Linked DNA regions of Homo sapiens: all the other regions are linked to region 2. The links are contacts of gene promoters, found by promoter capture Hi-C in human tissues and cell types (Jung and others, 2019). All regions are on one chromosome and are shown on one strand. Each heading gives the region's core, a stretch centred on a gene start or on the middle of the fragment in contact. The rest is flanking DNA. Distances are from core to core; before and after follow the strand shown. Region 1 overlaps MXD1 (MAX dimerization protein 1). Region 2 holds the start of TIA1 (TIA1 cytotoxic granule associated RNA binding protein). Region 3 overlaps GMCL1 (germ cell-less 1, spermatogenesis associated).

Region 1 (4,188 bases), core at 1,667-4,166, 310 kb before region 2:
AGTTAAGTAATTTGCCCAGGGTCACACAGGGAGTAAGTGGCAGAGCCAGGATCTCAAACATTTACTCTTTTTTAAATATTAACTTCATTTTTAATTTTTGTGGGTATGTAGTAGGTCTGTATATTTATGGGGTACATGAGGTGTTTGATACAGGCATGCAATGCATAATAATCACATCAAGTAAAATGTGGTGTTCATCCCCTCAAGCATTTATCCTTTGTGTTGCAAACCATCCAGTTCTACTCTTCCAGTTATTTAAAAATATACAATTATTTTGACTATAGTTACCCTGTTGTGCTATCAAATACTAGGTGTTATCCATTCTTTTAAGCTATTTTTTTTTTAACCCATTAACCATCCCCACCTCCTGCCCACCCCCGCTACCTTTCCCAGCCTCTGGTAACCCTCCTACTCTCTATGTCTGTGAGTTCAATTGTTTTGATTTTTACATCCAAAAAATAAGTGAGAATATGCAACGTTTGTCTTTCTGTGCCTGGCTTATTTCACTTAACCTAATGACCTCCAGTTCCATCCATGTTGTTGCAAATGACAGGATCCCATTCTTTTTATGGCTGAATAGTACTCCATTATGTATATGTACCACATTTCTCCAGACATTTACTCTTAATCACTGCATTAATATTTGGTTGCATAGTGACTGAGTCAGAATTTTTTAAAAAAATTAAAAATCAACAAAATTTGGGATACTTAAAACTTACTGAATAGAATCTATAGTTGTATCTAAATTTGTTATTACTAGTTATGGGCCATACTTGATTCAGAGCATGACTTATTATAGTTCAAAGATTGGTTTCTTTATGCCACTGTAGACCAAAGGTATATCAGCTTATTCAGAATAATTAAAGTTATGTTTCTGAAGAGTCAGAAGGTGAAGTTTGTTAGTCCATGGCCTAGGTACAAAGCAGTGTGGATCAGTGCTAAAGGAAGAGGCAGCCGGGTGCCAGGAAGATGGGAGGTAGCTCTTGGCAACAGAGGGAAGACTGAAGAAGATGTGATGGGAGGAGAGTCAACTTCCTGGGTCACACTGAGGTGTCGGGTGGCTTCCTGTTGAGGATATATGGCAAAACCCCTGCTAGTTCCCCAAATGGGAGTTTGACCTGGTTTAAAATGGGACAGCAGGGCACAGGAGTAGTCAGAACTGAGAAAAGAGAGCTGAGACGGGTGTTTGTTCTGCTTGTTTTGGATCTGGGAGCTCCGTGGGTACTCAGGGCTGGCAGAGGGATTCTAGATCCCAGGAGTTTGTGTGTCTGTATGTGTGTCTGTGTATGTGTGTGTGTGTCAGGGTTGGAGAGCTTTGGTAGGAGCTGTACATAACAGAGGGGTCTGTTTGCTTTTTTATCTGGTTCAGGGATTGGATTTCACTACTGTATGATAGAACTGAGTCTACTTAATATATTTCATTGCTCTCCTGTGGTTGGCCCGGGCACCAGTGTGGGGATGTCTGCAGGCAGTGGCATGTGGGCAGGGGGCAGCCATCAGGCTGCAGCAGTGAGGCGCCGGAGAAGGCCAAGGCAGACACTGCCAAAGACAGAGTTGGCTTTGGGTCTCTGCAAAAATCCAGAAAGAATTCTGGTCCTATTTTTGTAGAACTAGGCCAGAAAACACTGAATGAACAAGTATTAGTCTCAGCTGGAATTAGTCAAATGGCTTATTTCTAGTTTCACGACTAGGAGTGTTCTTTGGAAACCCACATTTGGGTAGTGAAAATTGCACTTTCTGGGCAAGACTCCTATAAGGCTAGAAATGACAATGCATCAAAAGATGACTTTATTATATTTTTATCAGTGGACAAACTTCCTAAAAAAATTCACACACTCATATCTGCATATAAACCAACATCATAAAAGTACTAAAATGACACTGTTCTGAATCATGCAGTCTTTGCAAATAACAAGCTGGCTGAAAAATATCTAAATATAATTTTAATTTTTGAACTTTTTCTTCTAATTGGAAAATTAGCTCATACCTGTAATCCCAGCACTTTGGGAGGCTGAGGCAGGCAGATTGCTTGAGGTCAGGAGTTCGAGACCAGCCTGGCCAACATGGTGAAACCCCATCTCTGCTAAAAATACAAAAATTAGCCGGACGTGGTGGCGGGCGCCTGTAATCCCAGATACTCAGGAGGCTGAAGAAGGAGAATCTGTTGAGCCTGGGAGGCAGAGGTTGCCATGAGCTGAGATCACGGCACTGTACTCCAGCCTGGGCGACAAGAGCAAGAACTCTGTCTCAAAAAAAAAAAAAAAAAAAAAAAACAAAAAAAGAAAATTAGTCTATAAGTTTTATGGCAAGAAATAGACAAATTTATAAATGTATAAATTATACTTTCTCATAGTGTTTCTAATAACATGATCTATTTTCATGGCTCTTTTTGAAGAATATTATCCAAGATGAACAAGTATATTTTACATACAAGTTTTCTTCCCTTCCCTGGTCCCCACCACATGCAGTAGTGGGAGGAGCACACCTGTAACATGAGTCTTTGCTCTGACTCTGCCACATGGACAGGTTTTTCAGAAGAAGTGAAAGACTTACAAAATAGTAAAGCCCTTGTGCTATTACCTCTTCCTAGCTCAGAAATGAATGCTGTACTCCCCAAGCTTGCCAAGCCTTAGAGCACCCTTGGAGAGTTTAGGACAACTTCCTCATGACCTAGAAGAGGCAGGAGGCTCAGAAGGAAGGAAGTCTAATGCCTTGCTTACTAGCCCTGCCTTAGGGGAACATCCTGAAGTCTCCCTGGAGAGTGTGAATTGACTTCTTACATTAATATCATGCATATTCACCTGTCCTATAGCTTTCTGAAGCCATTTCCTTTCTTTGGTCTATATTTTCAACTTTTGCTATTACAGTACAATTCTTAAGAGGAAAAAGGGCAAACCTATAAGGCATTGCATTGTTTCCCAATTCAGCTGGAGGGGAGCCTCCTAGACCCCAGGGAACTCTGCTCCAAGTAGGTTGTGTGTGGGCAATGAATGTTATCTAAAACCTGAAGACTCTGAGCACTGCTGAAGGTGCAAAGATGCAGTAGAGATGGACTCTGTCCTCTAGAAGCTTAAAGTCTAGTTGAATAGATGACATAATCCATTCAGCAAACACTTATTAAGCATGTGTGTGTTTGAGGCACGGTGACAGCACAGCAATGATTAAGCTGCAATCCTGACTTTCTAAGGAGACTGCAATGAATGGTTAAGTAAGAAATATGAAACAAGTCAGGCAGTACAGTGAACTTCCCAGTGAATAATATAAACAGTTAAGTGGTGCTTAGAAAATAGAGGAATCACTGTGAGCTAGGATGGCTTGGGAAGGCTTTAAGGAGGTGGTAAGCTTAAGCAAAACCCCCAAATCTCAGCTGCTTCTTACATTCATAGAATTTTCCAGGTTCTAGAATAAAGCACAAACCATTTCAAGGAAATGTAAATTTCTCAGTTGGAGCAACTCTCGTGCTCTCTCTTCAGTCAGTTGCCGTGGCTGCTGCTTCATCCAGCCCTTCTCCCTCTCCCACTCCGTGCCATTGCATCAGTCTGACATACTCCAAGAACAAAAAGTATAAAAAATGACTCAGTAAAAACCCCCATCACTTCCTTCCTTATCTCTGTCTGACTGTTCCTTGCCTTCTCCCTGCCCAGCCAGTTTCTTATGTGTCATTCCAGAGTTTGTCTACATACAAGAAAACATGAATATAGATTCTTGTTTTCCTCCATCTTTAAGATAGCATGGTATACTCACAGTTTGGAATCTTGCTTTTCTCCACTTAACAATATATCTGGAAAATCTTTCCTAATAGGACATAAAGCACATTCTCATTCTTTTTGATAGCTACATAGTACTACACGGTGTGGATGTAGCATAATTTATTTAACCAGTTCCCTCCTGGGTGGTCATTTGGGTTGTTTCAATCTTTGCTATTACAAATAAAGCTTCAACAAATAACTCCACAGATATATATGCTCCTTGACTTATGATGGGGTTATGTCTCAAGAAGCCCATCATAAATAAAAAACATCCCAAGTCTAATATGCATTTAATACTTCAATAAACTCATTATAAATTTAAAAAATTGTAAGTTGAACCATCATGAGTCAGGGACCATTACTGTATATAGTATTTACACATGTGAATGACTATATAATAGCAGATATTATTCCCTACCCCAGCACTTGTATTATCAAT
Region 2 (3,795 bases), core at 627-3,126:
GGTGCCCGCATGTAGTGCCAGCTACTTGGGAGGGTGAGGCAGGAGAATCATTTAAACCCAGGAGGTGGAGGTTGCAGTGAGCCGAAATCGCATCACTGCACTCTAGCCTTGCAGCCTGGGTGACAAAGTGAGACTCCATCTCAAAAAATTAAAAAGTAAAAACAAAATTAAAAAGTTAAAAAGTTAAGTGGTCAGATACTTCTGCAGTTTCTAAAATTAAACATTTTCAAACTAATACTGAGAATATTAAGTTTACATTATAAAACACGAGCAGTGCCTTAACCCAAAATGCTGATGACTGTCATAGCTAAGAGGCAAGAGGGAAGAGATTCCACCAACACCGTGAGGCTAGTAGTTTTTTAGGGAGTATTCATCTACAGATACAATCTTTCCTAAAACAAAGGTCATGCACTAATTGCTACGTCCTACTGAAAAGATACTTTCTGAGCCTCAGGAATAGAGAAAAGAAATTTCAAGGTTACTAACAGATTAACTGACAATCTATTAAGAAAACAAGTGTAACCACATTTCCAATATAGACAAGAAATAGCAACTTAAAAGTGGAAAAATTTTGGAGGTAAAAAAACAATTACATCGTACTTCAGAGCAACTTTATTAGAGAGCTGCAAAGAGAAACCTAAAATTGCATTTTTAATGCATGGAGCTCTCAAACTGCCAGTATTCCAAGAATATAAACAAAAAGCTATGTCATCCAAGAAAAACAAAAAGCTATGTCAAGAACTCATTGAGCTTTTCTTCTTCCGAGAAATGCCAACAAAGGCAGGATCAACTCATCCGATAATACCTCGAAAAACAAAGAACGCAGTTGGGGAAGCCACACGACAAAGAAAATATCCACGCTCCGGTAATTTAACGCTATCTCTAAAAATTCTCTGTAAATATGTTAGGGCATTTACAGCCCGCTCGTTCAACACCATGTCAATCACAACAGTAGTAAACGACTATAAAAATAATATTAAATCCATTTCCCCTCAATTGATATATTCCTTCTGGGTGAGATTTCCAAATCCTTGGGGTGTCTGGTTAGGCTTTTTGGTCGGTGGGTGCTACAGAAGGAAAGCCAGAGGTTAAAGAAAAATGCTTGGCTTTTTTCCAATTGGCAACTGCAAGAATAAAGTTTACTGCACTGAAAATGAGTACAAGCACCCTCGAGGAGGAAAAAAAATCTTATCACCGAGAAGAAAATGAAAGGAAGAATTTCAGTAGGAAATCAAAAGTAAAATTAAAGGGAGACGGCTGTAAAGATAAGAAGAGGTTAATCAAAAAGGGGGAGAAGCGGGAAAAGGAAAGAAAGCATAGGACAAAAGGAAGGTTCGACGAGTTCTAAAAAGAGGTCTGAATTAAAGTCTTTTCTCCAGGTCTAAGACCACAGAGGGCCCGTGGCGAGAGCAAAGGTCATGCAATGGTGTTGCTAAAGTGAAGGGATTAATTGAGAGGGTTGAGCCCCGTCTCCCTTCACCTCGTCCTCACAGATTGGGTCTTGGTTGTAAGCATCCAGGTGCATGCTAAGGAAACAAAAACCACGATATCGCGGTGTCCACGGAGAACAATAGGCTGGGAGCGGCGCAGGGCCGAGGCCTTCCCTCCGGGACGACCACCATCCCGCCTCCCTCATCGCTGCCCCAGACTCACAGAGTCTTGGGCATCTCGTCCTCCATGGCTGCTGCTGTCGCGGCGGCGCCTCCAGGTCCAGCTCCCTGCCCTTCACTACCTCCCAAATCGTTTAAGCGGTTATGGCTACAGGATAGTGGGGTTTCTCGGCTGACCAGAGGTTACTCCGCCTCCTCCTCCGGCGGCAATTACACTAAACCGCCCGGCCCAGCGGGAACAATGAAACCCCAATACAAGATGGCGGCGAGCCGGGAGCCTAGGAGCAGCCAGCAAAGTTACCCGGGCCGCGCAGGCGCAGAATAATCTTGCACTCTCAACCTCCGGGCCGCCCGGCTACACCTTAATCCATAGGTTCACTTGTTGCGCAGCCGCTCTTCCACCCGACGCGAGGGACGCCTCAGACTGCGCAGGCGCAAGTATTAACTACTTCACGATTTGCGTGAACTTTTTTGTCTTCTGGCTGCGGATTCGAGTGTTTCGACCGCGAATTATGAGGGAGTGGAAACCTTCAGGGACAGTAAAAAGCCTAAATCTTTCCTCTTTTGGAAAGATATATAAAGACTCTTCAAGCTATCTGGTTTTTAGCGAGCGAGAAGCAAAACGCCTATGCGCCGCCCGGGAATCGAACCCGGGTCGCAAGAATGGGAATCTTGCATGATACCACTACACCAGCGGCGCTGTTGACATGCCCAGCCGCCACAGTATTTTAGGAGGAAATAGAAGCAGACGTTCTCTCATGTGAAAAGAATTGTCATGTATTATTTATTCATTTAAAAGTAAAAGTTTATTGACAGTCTGTAATCTTCTGTTTTCCAATAACATAAATAATTTATCTTTTCTCATCCCAAACATAGGAATGGATGTTTCAACTTTCTCTGTACAGAAAAAAAATTTCAATTTAAAATGTTTACTTAAGAAATAAGAAAAAAGAAAAAAAGTTTTACTTAAAAAAGTAAGGATTTTATTAAGAATTTGCGTCGTTGGTGCTAGCCAGATTTTTCAGCGCGGGGAGGATATTTCCAGATGCCAGATTTTTATTTATATTTGCATTTCTTCCGTGTATTGATTGCACATTGAAAAGCATTTAAGAAATAGCTGTTTAGGCCGGGGGCAGTGGCTCACGCCTGTTATTCCAGCACTTTGGATGGCTGAGGCGGGCGGATCACCTGAGATCAGGAGTTCGAGACCAGCCTGACCAACATGGCGAAACCCTGTCTCTACTAAAAATACAAAAATTAGCTGGATGTGGTGGTGGGGGCCCGTAATCCCAACTACTCAGGAGGCTGAGGCAGGAGAATCCTTGAATCTGGGAGGTGGAGATTGCAGTGAGCCGAGATCTTGCCATTGCACTCCAGCCTGGGCAACAGAACGAGGATCCGTCTCAAAAAACAAACAAAGAAACAAACAAAAAACCCCAGCTATTTAATGCAAATTGGTCACAAGAATCTTAAAAGTAAACAAGTCAAAAGATACATAAACTTCAGTCCAACTTTAGGAGGCAGAGAAATTAGAGCTCTGAAATGTGATTCAGTATACTCTGTATGCATTTCACATTGCTTATTATATATATATGTCACTAAAGTAATCCTATGTCTAGGAATCTATCCTACAGAAATAAAACAATTAATTTATAAAGATTTATGTGCCAAGATACAACTGCAGCATTGTTTACAGTAGAAAAAAATGGAGTAACCTGAATATCCATCAATGCCACTTATGGTAATTTATTCAATTTACACCAAATACATGTGGAACTTTTTCTTTTTCTTTCTTTCTTTTTTTTTTTTGAGACAGTCTCGCTCTATCTCCCAGGCTGGAGTGCAGTGACACAATCTTGGCTCACTGCAACCTCTGCCTCCCAGGTTCAAGCGATTCTCCTGCCTCAGCCTCCCTAGTAGCTGGGATTACAGACGTGCGCCACCACCTAAATTAGCCTAACTAATTTTTGTATTTTAGTAGAGACAGGGTTTTGCCATGTTGGCCAGGCTGGTCTTGAACTCCTGACCTCAGGTGATCTGCCTGCCTTAGCCTCCCAAAGTGCTGAGATAACAGACGTGAGCCGCTGCCCCCAGATGGAACATTCATTTTATGGACTATTTTGCAGTTATTGAAAAGCTATTAATCAGATCTGTAGTGTTGAACTGGAAAATATCTATGATGTAA
Region 3 (4,174 bases), core at 862-3,361, 370 kb before region 2:
TCTACATTTACGTAGGTCTTCCCTTATGTCTGTCTCTAAAATTTGTAGTTTTTCCCATATTGTTCCTGTGTATTTCCTGGAAGTATAACACTTAGTATTTTACATTTCTTTTTTTTTTTTTGAAACGGAGTCTTGTTCTGTCGCCAGGCTGGAATGCAGTGGCGTGATCTCAGCTCACTGCAACCTCCACCTCCCGGGTTCAAGCGATTCCCCTGCCTCAGCCTCCCAAGTAGCTGGGATTATAGGCACATGCCACCACGCCCAGCTTTTTTGTATTTTAGTAGAGACAGGGTTTCACTCTGTTGGCCAAGATGGTCTCGATCTCCTGACCTCGTGATCCGCCCACCTCAGGCTCCCAAAGTGCTGGGGTTACAGGTGTAAGCCACCGCACCCAGCCAGTATTTTACATTTCAGTTGCTAATATGAAATGAATCATTTGTTCTAATAGTTTTTGATAATGTAAGAAAGTTAGTGATTTTTGTATATTTATTTTGTAACTGTCCATCTTATAAGACCATGCTAAATGGATTTTCACTATAGAAGGTTCCGTCAGACAGCAATGTGTAGGAAGGATTAAAGATATGATAATGGCAATAAAACAATTTATGATTATATAGCTATAATTCAGATTAAAAGTGATAAGAACCTTAAAGAATGTAGCAATGAAGAGGAAAATATTGATGGGTTCTGGAAATAAAGTGGTGCAATTGAGAATTTGATTCTTAATTGTGTGTGTGCATGAGGAAATGTCAGATGGTTTTCTGATTTGAGCAATTTAATTTACAGTAGTGGTTTTACCTGAGATTTGAATTATAGGAAGGAAAATGAACATGACATAGTGTTGGTGATGGTGAAGAGATGATGAATTCTGTTTAGGGCATGTTTAATTTGAGAGCATCAAGGTGAAAATTTGATAGGCTGGTGAATAATGGATTTGGAGTTTACAAGTAATGCCTGAACTAGAAATAATAATTGGATGAGATAATGTACAGGAAATGTGTAGAGAATATGACAGGATAGAACCCTAGGGACCACTGGTATTTAAGAGATGGACAAAAAAGGTAACCTGGTGAGACATTGAAAAGCTGGGATGGAGAATCAAAGCCAAATTGCAGGCTTGGCGTGGTAGCTCATGCCTGTAATCCCAGCACTTTGGGAGACCAAGGCCAGAGGATTGCTTGAGACCAGGAGTTCAAGACCAGCCCTGGCAACTTAGCAAAACCCTATCTATACAAAAAATTGAAAAATTAGCCGGGCGTGGTGGCATGTGCCTGTGGTACCACCTACTTGGAAGCTGAGGCAGGAAGATCACTTGAGCCTGGGAGGCTGAGGCTGCAATGAGCCATGATCATGCCACCGCACTCCAGCCTGGGTGACAGAGTCAGACCCTGTCTCAAAACAAAAACAGACAGACAAAAAACACTACCAACAACAACAAATACCCAGAAATTTATTTAATTGTCTGGAAGTAGAAATGGGGACCTAGGAAGTTGCTGCTGCTCTGCTGCTGCTATATGTGGGCTCCACAGATTCCATCCACAATGGAATAAGGAAAATAGAACTTTGCTATAAAGGTACTTCAATGCAAATGTAGATGCAGATTGAACCTTTAGGTGAAACAACAGATTTGATGAAGCTCGGATCGACCTATCCTGTTTGGGAATGGAGAGTGGGGATTAATACAATTTAATATTCAAAAATTGGTGTATCCATTCAGCCAAGTGATATCCACGTGCCTTCCTTCTTTCTCCAGAGTTGGCCCTTTGACCTACCCTTCCCTGCCTCAATCTTAACTGTATTCAAATACTAGAAGGCTAATCTTCCTCAGAGCCTTTTAGTTATGGAACAGAATCTTGATTTTTATCATCAGATATACATATCATCAAAACATTTGTCCTCAACAAATTTGGTAAATGTGCCTTCACCCAGATTATTGATATAAATTTTGACTAGTTCAGGATGTCTCAAGCATCTGAAGACCAACCATGCTTTGGCATAATTCCTCTCTGGTGACACTTGTTAGCACAGTCTAGGTGATGGCCTCCCCTGATTTTGTTCACTGATGTCTTTTTATAATACCACTTTCCCTCGTACAGAGAGAGAGATTGTGTGTTTGTGTGTGTGTGTGTGTGTGTGTGTGTGAGACATTTGTACTCTCTACCTTCTTTATTCAAATTTATCTTCTTGTTCCCTCAACACAGAAGCTGTGTCTAGTGAGTCTGCTTCAGTCACACAGATATTCTAGTTTTAGTTCCTCTTCATGCAGGAATACATGTCTCAGTAAAAAATTAAAACTTTGGATTTAAACAGTGTTTAATAGTATCTTATCCAAAATAAATAAAGTGTAACTAATGCATACTATTGCAGAGAGCATATCCCAGGCATTTAAAACGTAGGAATTCTCATTTTAGTGTTTCTTCTTTTACTCTGAGGATTGATTCTATTTACCAAATGCTTCTAGTAAAGGATATATGAGGTTCCAAACAGAGATCTGTAGCATCAGGGATGTTATATTTGTGTAGTGTCAGCTCCTGTCTCTGGGAGTTCTGAGCATTCTTGTGTGTGTTGATGTAACTGAACCTGAAATTGCTTTTCCATGATAATGTATTTTATGTTTCAGGAGACAAATTACATGTTTGTCATAGGGACAGTGGGAAATGTCAATAGTAGGAACCCTGCTTTTTGATGATGATAATGACTCCCGACCTTCATCTGGGTGATTTGCTGTACCCAACGGCCATCAGTAATTGAAGCCAAGTAGCCAGGCACAGTGGCACCTGCCTGTAGTCCCAGCTACTCAGGAGGCTGAGGCGGGAGGATGAGGCAGGAAGATCTCTTGAGCCCAGGAGTTCAAGGCCAGCTTGGGCAATATAGAAAGACCCTATCTCATTTTTAAAAATAATTAATTAATTTTGTAAAAGGAAATAAATTTTTTTAAAAATTGAAGCCCAGTGAGAAGTTTATGTATTTCTAGACATTGTATCTGTTGACAAAATATGTAAGTATTTGATAGAAATTTTTGCAATAATGAAAATAACTACCATTATTGAGTACTTAATAGATAGCTGGCTTTGCAAAACCCCCTGTGTATTATCTCTTGTAATCCTCCTTTAAGTCAGGTACTCTTACTGTCCCCATCTTACAGTGAGGAAGCTGCATTTGACAAGGTCACACAGCTAATGGGTGGGAGTTTGGAGAGTGGAGTTGTGGATCTCAGACTCAGGACACTATCTCCTTTGGTTCACTCAGTTCAACAGTTTGGTTTTTTGTTTTTATTTTATCTAATTGTCATTGAATCTACAAATCTGTCTTATAGGAACAAGTGGTGATGAACTTGGACAGCAGGCTTCTGATCTTCCCTTTATATATCTGCTGTAACTTCTTGTATATATCACCAGAAAAAAAGAATTGAAAATAATCGTCACCCAGAAAATCCAGAAAACTGAAGATTTCATCAGTTGGAAACAGTAGCACTTTGAAAACTTTTTAGGCCAGCTTTAATTTAATGGCCCTACTGATATTCACATCGAAGGTGACTAACAATGACAAAGGCCTTATGAACTGTACAGACAATACAGAAGATTATTCTTATCCTCATTGCATTTCTATGCATATGCGTAAGAACATTTTAAAGCCAAGAAAATATCTGTCAAACCATTTCTGTTAGAACGATGTCAATTCATGCTTTTAATTTAGCATCAATAGAAAATTGCTGTAGGTAAATCTCACATTTATCTGCAACAAAATATAGATTTAATTTTTAGCTTAAACTTTGTTTCTACCTTATGTTAGTGGACCTCAGTTATCCATCTGTAAATTTCTTTTTATTTGGCTAAAATAATCTAAAAGAATAATTTGGTTGGCCAATTAGAAATGCCTTTTTCAGTTGGTGTATTGAAAGCTTTCCTTTAACATTTTCACCTGCTCATTGTGATTCCTCCTTTTAGTCTAATATCTTTCCAGGTCATACTTGTTTTTAATCATTAAATATTTTCTTCCTGGTTTTGGAGACTAAGCTGATAAACTTTTTTTAAAACTTAAGCATTGTCATTGCTATTTTTTTTAATTTGACTTTCCTAGGAGTTTAAGAACAGTGAAAGTTAGCTTTGCACCTTCAAATGATCTTGAATGAGGGAAAAATCAGTTTGATTCCAAGGATATTTCTTGCCTTACA

Evidence for each region. Contacts are between HindIII fragments. The study calls those that stand out against the background at their distance.
Region 1: a fragment that was not itself captured here is called in contact with the fragment with the promoter of TIA1 in region 2 in 2 of the 25 tissues and cell types used here (dorsolateral prefrontal cortex and hippocampus).
Region 3: a fragment that was not itself captured here is called in contact with the fragment with the promoter of TIA1 in region 2 in 1 of the 25 tissues and cell types used here (spleen).

Annotation. Positions count from the first base shown.
Region 1 is chr2:69,930,952-69,935,139 of GRCh38, forward strand. The region is part of intron 3 of MXD1 (MAX dimerization protein 1); the gene reads left to right. It also overlaps a transcript of ASPRV1 not described here. Among named protein-coding and RNA genes, the nearest start is that of MXD1, 18 kb to the left of the region's middle. The HindIII fragment of the contact is 4,255 bases long and covers 790-4,188 here.
Region 2 is chr2:70,246,752-70,250,546 of GRCh38, forward strand. It overlaps TIA1 (TIA1 cytotoxic granule associated RNA binding protein), which reads right to left and starts at 1,877. Exons shown (of 13, transcript NM_022173.4): 1 at 1,654-1,877. The coding sequence starts at 1,679. It overlaps TRG-CCC2-1 (tRNA-Gly (anticodon CCC) 2-1), which reads right to left and starts at 2,310; the gene lies at 2,240-2,310. RefSeq lists enhancers at 643-1,458, 1,459-2,273. The HindIII fragment of the contact is 19,489 bases long and covers 1-3,795 here.
Region 3 is chr2:69,875,593-69,879,766 of GRCh38, forward strand. It overlaps GMCL1 (germ cell-less 1, spermatogenesis associated), which reads left to right. Exons shown (of 14, transcript NM_178439.5): 14 at 3,317-4,174. The coding sequence ends at 3,412. Among named protein-coding and RNA genes, the nearest start is that of SNRNP27, 16 kb to the right of the region's middle. The HindIII fragment of the contact is 5,483 bases long and covers 1-4,174 here.